3 separate regions of the Homo sapiens genome follow, and regions 2 and 3 are each linked to region 1. Evidence: promoter capture Hi-C in 16 types of primary human blood cells and fetal thymus (Javierre and others, 2016). All regions are on one chromosome and are shown on one strand. The core of a region is centred on a gene start or on the middle of the fragment in contact, and the rest is flanking DNA. Distances in the headings are between cores, read along the strand shown. Region 1 holds the start of USP28 (ubiquitin specific peptidase 28). Region 2 overlaps REXO2 (RNA exonuclease 2). Region 3 has its middle 12 kb from the start of C11orf71.

Region 1 (4,301 bases), core at 1,137-3,636:
TGATAGTGAGTTCTTATGAGATCTTTGTGTGTGTGTGTGTGCGGGGGGTCGGGGGGGACACTTCTTTTGTTCTATCTCTCCTACTCTGCCATGGTGAGACATGCCTGCTTCCCCTTTGCCTTCCACCACGATTGTACGTTTCCTGAGGCCTCCCAGTCTTGCTTCCTGTTATGCCCCTGAGTCAAACCTCTTTTCTTCATAACTTACCCAGGCTCAGGTAATTCTTTATGGCAGTGTGAGAACAGACTAATACAAAGGATTATAGGTTTTGACAGCACTTACACACAATAAACATGCAATTTCCTAAAATGAATGTGTAAAGACAAATAAGGGTTGCTCCAGAGACATGGTAAATAAAGCATTCTAGCAGTGTAGAAATAGGCAATGCTGTAAATAAGCTAGACTCAGAAATCAATGTGGGCTGGGCGTGGTGACTCATGTCTGTAATCCCCAAATTTTGGGAGGCCAAGGCAGGAGGATTGCTTGAGACCAGAAGTTTGAGACCATCCTGGGCAACACAGTGAGATCCCATCTCCATAAAAAAGACACAAAAATTAGTTGGGCATGGCACATGCATGAAGTCCCTGCTGCTTCAGAGGCTGAGGCAGTTGGACTGCTTGAGCCCAGGAATTCAAGGCTGCAGTGAGCCATGATCTCACTACTGTATTTCAGTCTGGGTGACAGAGTGAGACCCTGTCTCAAAAAAAAAAAAAAAAAAAAAGAAAACCAGCATCAACCTGAAATCAACCTGTTCTACAGTGACACCCAGGTTGAGGCCATAAACACAGTCACTCATGAGGAAAGGAAAAATGGCAGAGCCACATACATAAAATGTCCTACTACTCGCAGACACAAACACAGTCAGCCTGTTGAATGTGGAAGATTCCAAGTTAGTATCACCGCAGCCATGCCAATCTGCCAGTTAATCTGCCAGGGGAAGCGGATCCCTGTATCTCCAGGTGGTGGAAGTTGCAGGAGTCCTAGTTCAGGCCTCAGAGAGTAATCTGGCCTCTCCTGGGAGCTGCACCTGACCTGTACCTGTTTCCTTTTGTCAAAAACTGCGCCCGCATGCAGACTAGGGAGGCCTGCAGGTGAAACATAACAATCCCAGCGACAACAATGCCAGGAGTATAGGAAAGGCCACCGTCCATGTTAAATTCACACTTAAAAGTGTAGCTTGAGAGTCAGACCAGACCAGGGCAAGGGTGTAGGTGCTACTCTTAAAAGACGCGCTTCCACACTCAGCCTCTACGCAGATTTGGGACACCCAGCAGCCTGTCAAGTGGGTTTGCCATCATAACACATTTGTATCTTAAATGTGAAACATGGTTCAGTAATCACAATTCCCACACAGTTGTTGAAAATACAATTCAGGCCTGGCGCGGTGGCTCACGCCTATAATCCCAGCATTATGGAAGGCCGAGACGGGCGGATCACCTGAGGTCAGGAATTCGAGGCCAGCCTGGGCAACATGGTGAAACCCTGGGTGTGGTACAGCGTGCCTGTAATCCCAGCTACTCAGGAGAATCGCTTGAACCCAGGAGGCGGAAGTTGCAGTGAGCCGAGACCGTGCGGCTGCACTCCAGCTTGAGGGGACAGAGTGAGACTCCGTCTCAAAAAAAAAGAAAAAAAAAAAAACAAACCGAAACCAACCAAACAAAAAACAATTCAATAGGAGCACCTGGTCTTTTAACATGAAATCGTAAATATCTGGCTCAAACGTAACAAAGTAACACAAAATTTTAGTTTGAACTTCTGAAAATCGAAAATGGAAAAACTGCAATTTTCCTTATCATGCCCAGGTTAAGAGCATCAGGGTTAAGGGCACCAAGCGGGACACCCATGAACGGAGGCTTTGGTCCGTTTGGTTAGCTTTAGACAAGCGACTGCATTCATCCTCCTTCTCTCCTTAAAGATGGTGAACACTTCTTCATGTCATTGGAGTTGGAAATGGCTACAAAGCCTGATGGGAAATCCTTTATTCCACGGTCATTCGGCAGTTTCCCACGGCGGGGGAACAGTTTTAACTCGCCCGTGGGGAGGGTGGAGCCGGAGGTCAGTCCTACAAATGAGGTTTTGAGGGCAGAGAGCGGAGAAGACTCAGGAACGCGGCTCCCAGGATTCGCAAACCCAGTTCCCGGACACTGGCAGCGCGGCCCGCAGCCTCCACCGGCTGTGAAGCTGACCAACAGCGACAGGCGGGGCCGGGATCACGTGACCGACGTCTGGTCAGCCGGGCGTGCGCGGGAGCACGCAGAACTGTTCGGCCCCGGGCCGCGCGCCTTGCGTGCGCGCGCATGCCGGGGGCGGGGCATGTGGGCCAAGCCTCCGGCGCGCGCTGCGGGCGGGGGCGGGACGGAGCGGGGTGGAGGGCGGGGGCGGGGCCTAGTCCTGAGAGGCTGGGCCGGCGGCGGCTGCGGCGGGAGACCGGTGACCCGCGGCTGGGCGCCTCGGCCATGACTGCGGAGCTGCAGCAGGACGACGCGGCCGGCGCGGCAGACGGCCACGGCTCGGTGGGCTCCGCGGCGGCGAGCGGGAGCTGGGGGCGGGCTCCAGGCCCTGAGGGGAGCGTGCGGGGCCTGCAGGGCTGCGGGTTGCGGGCTGCGGAGGGCGCCCCGGCCGGGCGGGACAGGGGGTGCGCCCGCCAGCGTGGGTGAGAAGGCCAAGGGCTCTGCGGGGCTCGGGCCGCGGAGATTGAGGACTGCATCTTCGCGTCCGTGGGCGAGCTGAAGTTGTAGGGGGATTTCCAGATTTTGGAAAACCAAATATAAAGGGCTGGACGTGGGGTTCTCCGCCGCAGGGATCAGTAAGGTGAGCCCTCCTGGGCCCCGTCCGGGGTGAGAAACTTCCGAAAGCGGCAGCGTTGGTTGGTTTTGTTTTGCTTTGACTTTTAAATCAGTTTTATGGCGGCGTTTTTAAAAGGTTAAAGCAGACCGAAGTTATCTCACTTAAAGTCCGGAATTAATCACCGTCTTCTATAAGACCAGGGGTCCCAGTTACCACCACTTCCCTCCCTCCCAACCCGGCTTTAAAAACAAAACAGCGCAGCCTCCCCAATTATTGCCTTCATCGCTCTAGATTTTTAAGGAGGGGGAGGAGCTGCGTGATGAATAGAAAGTCTACTGATGATGATCTCCTGTTCCCAATGTCTAAGAAGATTGAAATCAATATAAGGACTTCTGATCTAAGAATCTGGTGAGAGTGAAAGAACCCTGGTTTGAGAGAAAAGCTAATGTCTGTATGAAGAAACTTGGGAAGAGGGCAATTTGAGCATGTCTTCTAGTGTTACTTCGGAATGTTATAACTTAACACCACCTCCTCACCCCTCAAGTACTGCACTTTTTCAAGAGAAAACGGGAAATCTGTGCCAGTTGTTCAAATACGAGTTTGGAGATGAGAAACTATATTTGTCGTACAAAGCTGGCAGACAGATACCCTCAGGTGAGAATCCTTTTATACCTTTTTACTCTTTTGTCTGGAAGGCCAGTAGTATTTAGCATGGAGACACTTTTTTTTTTTTTTTTTTTTTTTTTTCGACAGAGTCTCCCTCTGTTGCCTAGGCTGGAGTGCTGTGGCGCGATGTCGGCTCACTGCATCCTCCGCCTCACCCTCCTGAGTAGCTGGTATTACAGGTGCTTGCCACCGGCCCGGCTAATTTTTGTATTTTTAGTAGAGTCGGGGTTTCACCATATTGGTCAGGCTGGTCTCAAACTCCCGACTTAAGGTGATTCGCCCGCCTCGGCCTTCCAGAGTGCTGGGATTACAGGCGTGAGCCACCGCGCCCAGTCTGGACGCACTTTTTTTTTTTTTTTTTTTCCAGACGGAGTCTCACTTTGTCGCCCAGGCTGGGGTGCAGTGGCGCGATCTCGGCTCACTGCAACTTCCGTCTCCCGGGTTCAAGCGATTCTCCTGCCTCAGCCTCCCGAGTAGCTGGGACTACAGGCGCGTGCCACCACGCCCAGCTAATTTTTGTATTTTTAGTAGAGATGGGATTTCACTGTGTTGGCCAGGATGGTCTCGGTCTCTTGACCTCATGATCCGCCCGCCTCGGCCTCCCAAAGTGCTGGGATTACAGGCGTGAACCAGGGCGCCCAGCCTGGATGCGCTTTTTAAAACTCATGTAGAAAAAGATACTTCCAGGTCCTGGGCTCCGAAACGAAAGTATCATGCACTGACTTCTAATGGAAATATTGTTAGATGTTCACAAGTGCCTATTGAAATGTGTCAAGATTTTTCTCTGGCTTCAGAGGTCAGTTCTATTTGTTTTTAGCACAGTGATTTAAAAACATGGGAAAATTTTA
Region 2 (4,301 bases), core at 934-3,433, 570 kb before region 1:
CTCACATCAATTATTCTATAATGAAGATGTTTCATGAACTGGGGCATGTATTTGTCAAGAAACTTCTTATCTTCATGAACTGAATTTCCTAGAAAGACACGAAGCATACTGCATCTCTATATTTCTAGTATTATACAACAGGATATCAAAATTCATAAGTTGTATTTGAAATGGAGATGATTTTTTAAAATTCAAACAATTCCTAAAAGCACCTCTATATTTCTAAATCAGGTTTGGGTAAATGTGATTAGCTTACAAGTACAGATTTCCAAGTACTTAGTCAGTTTAGCTCCTTATAAATTTGTAAATGACCTCTCATGAACAGAAGGACAAATCTATCATTCCACATGCTTGATGTAATGCACAAATCTATTTGTTACTTTCTAAGGTCATACCTGATATGCAAACTTTCTCCCAGTGTCACAAAATTCACACCACTAACACTAAAAATTTAACTGAATCACATAGGTAGATAAACCTTTATTTACAATCCAAATTTTTAAACAAATCATATGCATATTTATGTCCCCAAAAAGTAACTTATACTAAAAACACTAAATTTTAAATGAGACCTTTAAAACAGATATCAGCCACATTGGCTGGCGGAAACATTTACACAATATATGCTCTAGTACTTAATGCCAAAACTTATTTTTATAAATGTTTAAGAACAGTATTAGCTACCACATCGACTTACATATACAAACGTACATATACCTTCAGAGAAACATTAACTTCCCTCTGGCAATGTCACCCTTTTAAAAATCCTGGTAGAACAGGCCTGGTCTCTTTAGAAAGTCAATGACACAGGGGAAAAATAATAGGTGGAAAGTTTTACATTAAGAGACTAAAGAAATATAACTAAATGAAATGCACGAGCCTTGACTGAATCCTGGTTCAAAAACAAATATTTTGGGGAACATCTAATGTGGACTAGATATCATATGATACTGAATAATGTTTAATTATCTTCAATGCAATGACATTGTATTACATAAGAAAATGTCTTTATCTTAGGAGATGTTTGATGAAGTATTTAGGAATGAAGTGTCCTGATGCCTGCAATTTCCTTTAAAATGTCCAACAAAAAATAGGTAAAACAAATACGACACAAGGTTAACAATTACTAAATCCACTCCTCTGTGCATGTGAAATTTTTCCATCATAAAAATATGGGAGAAATTCTTATTGAGTAAGTTTGTGTTTCCCAGATCTCATGTCAGGTTTCAGGGCATTTTCCCAATACTCATGCTATAAACTACACAGAGAAACTTGAACAGAAAAGTTAAGATGTGTAACCCAAAGCAGGGTTAAGTGGAAGACATGGATGGGCTCGGCTAGTCTTTCTGGAACTGCAGTCTCTTGAACCACTACATATGGAAGACTATAAGATATACACAGGATTGGATTTTACCTGCAAGTGGACAGAGCCCTGGAGGAGTCTGCTGTCGTACAAAGGACAGAAATTCATACTCTGCCTGCTGCAATGTAATTGTACTCTCCTTCACTGCCTTGGTAAGGCCAGACTGCAAGAGAGAATCCCCAGCCCCCCACCAAAAACACATGTAAAGTCAGTTTTCAAAGGCATCCAGAAATGAAATTTCACTTTTAAAATGGGCAAATATAACCACAAATAGACCATTTTTAGAGCTCAAGTTCAAATTGCAACTGCCATCTTTGCACCATTTTTTTTTCTTCAAGAATCCAAGCCAACTTAGTTATGATCCTGACTGTTAATAGCATGTCCACAGTCAAAAAAGACGGTGTTCAAAGTCCAAGGATATTAACCTCTGGGAAGAAACAACTATTAACAGGAGAGCAGCAATCCCCCTTCTCTGAAAGTTGATGTCTAACCTTATCCAAAAGACTGACTTGAGTAATACTTGACAATCCACAATGCGTTCGCGACAGACTGAATGTAGGAGAGAAAAAAAAGAGGACATTCAGGAGAAGATGATCTCGAGAGGTCCCAAAGATGAAAAGTAAACAAGCAAGCAGTTTCCCAGGCTTGCCATGCAATCTTCTCTAAGCCTTTTTAAAATACCATCCAACAATGGTATCGGATTCAGGTGTGGGAGCAAAAAGCTTGCTACTGATCCCCAAAGCAGCAATCCTGTTATTTGGTAATGTTACCTTCCCGTGATGCTCCTTACACCAATCTGACATGCTGTCCAGCAACTCATCTGGTTGTTTTATAATCAGGTTAGGACCCTGTGGATGGGAAACGCCATCAGTCACCAAGAAACAACAGGAATAACCTTACTTTCAGAGGGAAAGCTTAAGCTGTTTTAAGGACTAAATATACATATCAGAGAAAGTAAGAGATAAGGATACTTTAAGTGTTCCCCCTTCATTCCAGCACTGTTCATTAAGGCAAAATAGAACATACGAACATACACACACCACTGAAAACTCTAATCCTACAAATAGATGACACAGATATCTATCAAGGGTCAGCAAACTATGGCCCCACACTTCAGCTATTTATTAATAGCTAGAAAGCTAAGAATGATTTTTACATTTGTAAAAGATTGTTTAAAAAAAAAAAAGAACATATGACAAGAACATATGACTGCACTCAAAGCCTAAACAATTTAATAACTTGCTCTTTCCAGAAAAGTCTGTCAACCCTTGATTATGAGTTCATTTTGAAAAGTGTCTAGGCCAAGCATGGTAATCCCAGCACTCTGGGAGGCCGAGGTGGGAGGATCACTTGAGGCCAGTAGTTCAAGACCAGTCCAGGCAACATAGCAAGACCTCATTTCTACAAAATTAAAAAAAAAAAAAAAAAAATTAGGTGGGCCTGGTGGCACACCCCTACAGTCCTAGCTTCTCAGGAGGCTGAGGCAGGAAGATCACTTGAACCCAGGAGTTCGAGGTTACAGTGAGCTACATGCCACTGCACTCCAACCTGGGTGACAGGGTGAGACCCTATCTCTTAAAAAAAAAAAGTATCTATATTGCAGGTGAAAAAAACAATTGCAAAACCATGTATGTATAGGTATGATTTCATTTACACTTGTTTTAAAAAAAACACGCATTTATATAAACATACAAAATATCAAGACAATACATAAACTTGGAGTAAGAAGGAGCAATAGAACAGGACAAAAATCCAATAGTTCACTACACACATACTTTGGATAGTTACACTGTTTTAACAGTATTTTTATATTTAAAAAAAAATTAAAGAGGTAATTGTTGATATCCAAAACACAAAGTAGCCCTCAAATTCTCAGCTCCATTTCATAGAACATCCAAGTATGAGTCTCTCAGATAAGTCCTGGCAGTTAACAGTAGCTACGGCATTAAAGCAAGTCACCTCAGCTTCTCCCTCTGTAAGATAGTGATAATAATAAACTGTACCCCTTCCCTCATAGAAATGTTAACAGGATAAAAGAAATTATAGATATGAGCTCTTTGAACTCTCTGATAGAAAAGTATTCCATAAATCCAAGGTATTATTACTACTAAGGTGGTAAAAACAGTTCACAATCACTGAAAGAAATGGCTAGAATTTAATTAAAATACGCCTGACATCCTACTACTAAAAAGGAGATTTAGCCAAACAAGAAAACTGGTGTTGGTAATCTCTGCGAAGAAACAAAAAATTTTGCTTGGATAACAGATGTTTTATGATAGTCACGAAGGAAAAAGAAAACCCAAACCTATGAAAATGAAAAAAAATACTCATACTATTAAAAAAAATACTAACAATGATGGAAAAATCAAACTACTACAAACTATTTTAGATCCCTATTTAGCAAGCCAAGGGACCACACCTACAGAAAAATTTTCAGAGTAGGATGCCTGCTCTTCTACCAGCATAAAACATTTTTCTCAGACTCTTATAAAAGAATAAAACATACTGCAGAACTGATAGCCCCTAAGCTTTTTTTTTTTTTTTAACATCTTTATCCTCATCTGACTTAGTCCATTTACAAATGCTGCATTCATCTGCAGCTGTGTGAATACATACCCAAATTTCCTCCAGGGTACATATCAACCTACGGGTCCATTAAACTGTCAGTATTTCACATTATATCAACAGTCTAAAGGAAACACTCTTCTTCGGCCAAGGGTAAGTTAGACTGGTAAAATAAAGACACTTCTCTTCACTATTGATCTCCAATAAATCCCAAGTAACAGAAAAAAACAACCAAATCTAAAACTCAGGGCTTTATTTATACAAAGTTAAAAAAGTTGTTATGATGAGAAGTACAAAGTCTCATGATTCTCCTACAGTTGATATGTGGGGAGGATAAGCCTGGTACTCCACAAACGCAGTCATTAATCTAGAA
Region 3 (4,301 bases), core at 1,235-3,734, 510 kb before region 1:
GCCAAAGAACAAATGCATTAGCTCTGCTGAATCATTTTTCTTAAACACTGTCAAACAAAGATTGTTAAACTCTATCAAAACAAAGATTGTAGGCCAGGTGTGGTGGCTCACGCCTGTAATCCCAGCACTTTGGGAGGCCAAGGTGGGTGGATCACCTGAGGTCAGAAGTTTGAGACCAGCCTGGCCAACATTGTGAAACCCTGTCTTTACTAAAAATACAAACATTAGCCAAGCATGGTGGCTTATGCCTGTAACCCCAGCTACTTGGGAAGCTGAGGCAGAAGAATTACTGGAACCCAGGGGATGGAGGTTGCAATGAACCAAGATCGTGCCACTGCACTCCAGCCTGGGCAACAGAGTGAGACTCTGTCTCAAAAAAAGAAAAGAAAAGAAAGAGAGGCTGGGTGCTGTGGCACACACCGGTGATCTCAGTGCTTTAGGAGGCCAAGGCAGGAGAATTGCTTGAGTCCAGCAGTTGGAGACCAGCTGGTTAACATAGGAAGACTTCCATCTCTACAAAAAAAATTTTTTTAATTAAAAAAAAAAAAGAAATAAAGAGAAATAGTAATATCTTTATTTAAATATTTTACAGATAATTTAAAGTTTTAGAAGTATTTTCTGGGCGGGGCATGGTGGCTCACGCCTGTAATCCCAGCACTTTGGGAGGCCGAGGCAGGTGGATCACCTGAAGTCAGGAATTCAAGACCAGCCTGGTCACCATGGTGAAACCCCGTCTCTACTAAAAATACAAAAAATTAGCCAGGTGTGGTGGCGGGCACCTATAATTATCCCAGCTATTAGGAGGCTGAGGCAGGAGAATCACTTGAACCCAGGAGGCAGAGGTTGCAGTGAGCTGAGATCGTGCCATTGCACTCCAGCCTGGGCAACAAGAGCAAAACTCCGTCTTGAAAAAAAAAAAAAAAACAACAAAGATGGTTCATATTGATACAATAGTGGGTTAGATTATGGTCCCTGGACTCAATGAATTTGTTGAGCACAAGTAGTCTCTTTATTAACTGGAGAAGGTGGCATTCTTTAGTTTAACGTGTGTTTATTTACATCTATAAAATACCTAGATATAAAACCTTATTTAAAATGTGCAGATCATGTTTTTGTTTTTTCGTTGTTTAATTCTGGGAAGCCCTTTTTTCAATGCTTGTTTTAAATCATTTTAAAATATATTTGTAAAACTAAGTTATGTGTGTGAGCCTGTATATAATATGATTTGGGAGGTCATCATTCTGATCATTGTGCAAAATATACATGTGTAAAATCATATATGAGGTCTTAGGATGATGTCACTAAATCCTCTTTATATGTGGCTACTAAAAATAGACCCTAGCCAGGCACAGGCTCACGCTCATAATCTCAGGGGTTTGGGAGGCTGAAGCAGGAGGATCGCTTGAGGCCAGGACTTTGAGACCAGCCTAGGCAACCTAGTGAGATCCTGTATCTACAAAAAATAAAAAATTAGTATGTGGTGGTGTGTACCTGTAGTCCCAGCTACTCAGGAGGCTGAGGCAGGAGGTTTGCTTGAGCCTAGGAGTTCAAGGTTACAGTGAGCTATGATCCCACCCCTGCACTCTAGCCTGGGCAACAGAGTGAGACCCTGGCTATAAAAAAAAAAACAAAAATTAACTGCATCTTATATTAAGTTCCATTTCATAATTGGCTCTAATAGGAGGGCACCTTATAAACTTACTCTGAAAGTACTGTCTAAGGCTATTGTGGGTAAACAGTTGTAGTATATTTATGCCATGAAGTACTACTCAGCAATAAAAAGGAATTATTTACTGATATACACACAACATCAATAAATCTCAAGAGCATGCTGAGTGAAAGCAGCCAGACACAAAAGACTATATACATATGATTCTACGTAGATGAAACTCTAGAAAAGATAAATCTAATGTATATTGGTAAAAGCTTATTGGGGCTTGCTTGAGGATGATAATTGATTGGGAAGAGAGGACACAGAAATTGTTTGGAAGGTGATGAAAATATTCTATGTTTGATTGTAATGATTATTACATGGGTATATATAACAGTCAAAACTTATCAAGCCGTACATTTTGAATGGATGGATTTATTGTATATAAATTATTTACTTATTTACTTAGAGATGTGGTCTCGCTCTATTGCCCAGGCTGTAGTGCAGTGGTGTGATCATAGCTCATTGTAACCTCAAACTCCCGGGCTCAAGTGATCCTTCCACCTCAACCTCCTGAGTAGCTGGGGTTACAGGTGTGAGCCACCACACCTGGCTCTGTATATAAATTATATATTTCAATAAAATTGGAAAATAAACAAAAATATTTTATTGCAAAAAGGGTAGTCTACATGGTATTTATAAAGAGACAATCTTATAAGCAAGTATTTGCCAGGGTTTCTCCTGTAGGGAAGTGTGTGCCCCAATGTGAGAACACTAACATCTCATGCCTGGCCAGATAAAACTGCCAAGTGAAACCCATCGGTTGTTGTTGTTGTTGTTGTTGTTGTTGTTTTGCCCTTGCTCCAAGCTGTAAAAGCAAACATCGATCTAGCATGTCTTCAGGGAGAGAGTGTACTCAGTTCATCTGAGCATTCCAAGCCCCAAGGTGTCTTAGTCCATTTTCTGCTGCTATAACAGAATGCCACAGACTGAGTAATTTGTAAAGAATATACATTTATTTGGTTAACAGTTATGGAGGCTGGGAAATCCAAGAGCATGATGCCAACATCTGGTGAAGGCCTTCATGCTGTGCAATGTGTTATCCCATGGCAGAAGAGCAAGGAAGGGCTGAGACAAAGAAAAACGTGCCAAACTCCTACAGAGCCCTTATGACCTAATCACTTCTTAAAGGTCCTACTTCCTAATATTATCACATTTGCAATTAAATTTCAACTTCAGTTTTGGAGGGGACATTCAAACCATAGCACATGGTTATTGGCATTCTGCTTTATGTACCAACTTCTTGTCAGTTTGGTTAGTATGAGACAGTTCCAAAGAACCTCATCATATTTGGAGGCCCTTACAAAGAGCTCCTTAACATCTGAAGCTTGAGGATCAGCTCCTCGAGCACAGTGTCTATATTAATGCACTTCTGTTTCTAGAAAGTCCTTTCTCGACCATCCTCCAGTTCAACATCTCTTAGGTCATACTTCCTTTACATCCTCTGCACTTCACAGATACAATAATACCTCAATTCCATTTCATTTTTCAACTTATTAACAAGCCTATATGGCCAAAGTGAAGACTTGGCAATCATAGGTCAACAATGTAAGTATTTTCCAATAAAATCCCAACTTTCTTGCTGTTAACTGGGTAAATGGACACAGTGAGGTCTTTGTTGCTGGGTTATCTGGGTGTAGCTGGCCTCTGACAATATTTTACATATAAATTAATATTTATAGGCTACTTCATTTCAGGCAAAGCAAAAGATGTTGCCACGCCACAGGAAATTTCAAGATTTTTGTGGGGGAATTCTGGCAAACTTGCCAAATGATGACATTCCAGCAGTTTTGGAAACAATCTAATATGTTGGTGTGGAAATACTGCATATAAATTCTTTAATTATCTCTCATTTTGGCTAAATTTTAGCTTTGTGGTGTGAGAGCAGATCTTCATTTCCACTGCTGCCATAATATTTGATGGCAGTTCCACTTGGCTCCTTTCTAGGCCTGAGTTCAGAGCAATATGGCAGTTTTGTGATGTGGACACAGTTTCTATGCTAAAGCCATCCATTTTAATAAAGTAAAGGTCTAGCCCATTGAGCCCAGTTGAATACAGCTGTTGCATTGATCTCTTCTGATGCTACAGCCATTGAGTTCATTTCCTTAATCACGTTTTCCATACGGGTAAAAGCATGAAGCTGCTTAGTATCTTCCAGAGTGCATGCATTCTAATTTCAGAATTTAATCAAATGGAACTGGCTTCCTGACAGAGTAAACAGAGCAAAATACTGTATCCAGACCAGCTGCCAAGCTAGCAGCCTGAATTTATTTTTCCTTGCTTTGTTAAATGCATCTTGAATTTTTGAAAACATAGTCCAGGTTTAGGAAATTTAACATTTTTGAATCAAGATCAGTCACCTCTAATATCCCTCCATAAATACATCCATTAAATTTCAAAAGTCAGGTAGCTGAGTTAATCCTTTCTCACCTGACTGTGACAGAGAAGAAAACACATTCCTTTTTTTCTATTGAACATTGAACGCAGGAATTGTGAACATAGACACTTGCCATTTGGGCTAATCAAATGGCAGAGTAACTTTAAATATCTATCGTTTTTTCCTGATTGCTAGCTCTGTAGTTCTTATTTG

Evidence for each region. Contacts are between HindIII fragments. The CHiCAGO score rates a contact against its expected background, and 5 or more counts as called.
Region 2: a contact is called between a fragment that was not itself captured here and the fragment with the promoter of USP28 in region 1, in 8 of 17 cell types (total CD8 T cells, activated CD4 T cells, total B cells and 5 more). The highest score is 8.0, in total CD8 T cells.
Region 3: a contact is called between a fragment that was not itself captured here and the fragment with the promoter of USP28 in region 1, in 4 of 17 cell types (total CD8 T cells, naive CD8 T cells, non-activated CD4 T cells and 1 more). The highest score is 6.2, in total CD8 T cells.

The regions. Positions count from the first base shown.
Region 1 is chr11:113,873,657-113,877,957 of GRCh38, reverse strand. USP28 (ubiquitin specific peptidase 28) reads left to right here and starts at 2,386. Exons shown (of 26, transcript NM_001346252.4): 1 at 2,386-2,513. The coding sequence starts at 2,457. RefSeq lists enhancers at 1,166-1,827, 1,878-2,127, 2,117-2,411, 3,998-4,301 and silencers at 2,148-2,307, 2,328-2,687. The HindIII fragment of the contact is 13,869 bases long and covers 1-4,301 here.
Region 2 is chr11:114,441,766-114,446,066 of GRCh38, reverse strand. REXO2 (RNA exonuclease 2) reads right to left here. Exons shown (of 7, transcript NM_015523.4): 3 at 2,134-2,211; 4 at 1,415-1,526; 5 at 1-88. Among named protein-coding and RNA genes, the nearest start is that of REXO2, 4.4 kb to the right of the region's middle. The HindIII fragment of the contact is 192 bases long and covers 2,088-2,279 here.
Region 3 is chr11:114,385,921-114,390,221 of GRCh38, reverse strand. No RefSeq gene overlaps it. Among named protein-coding and RNA genes, the nearest start is that of C11orf71, 12 kb to the left of the region's middle. The HindIII fragment of the contact is 1,112 bases long and covers 1,929-3,040 here.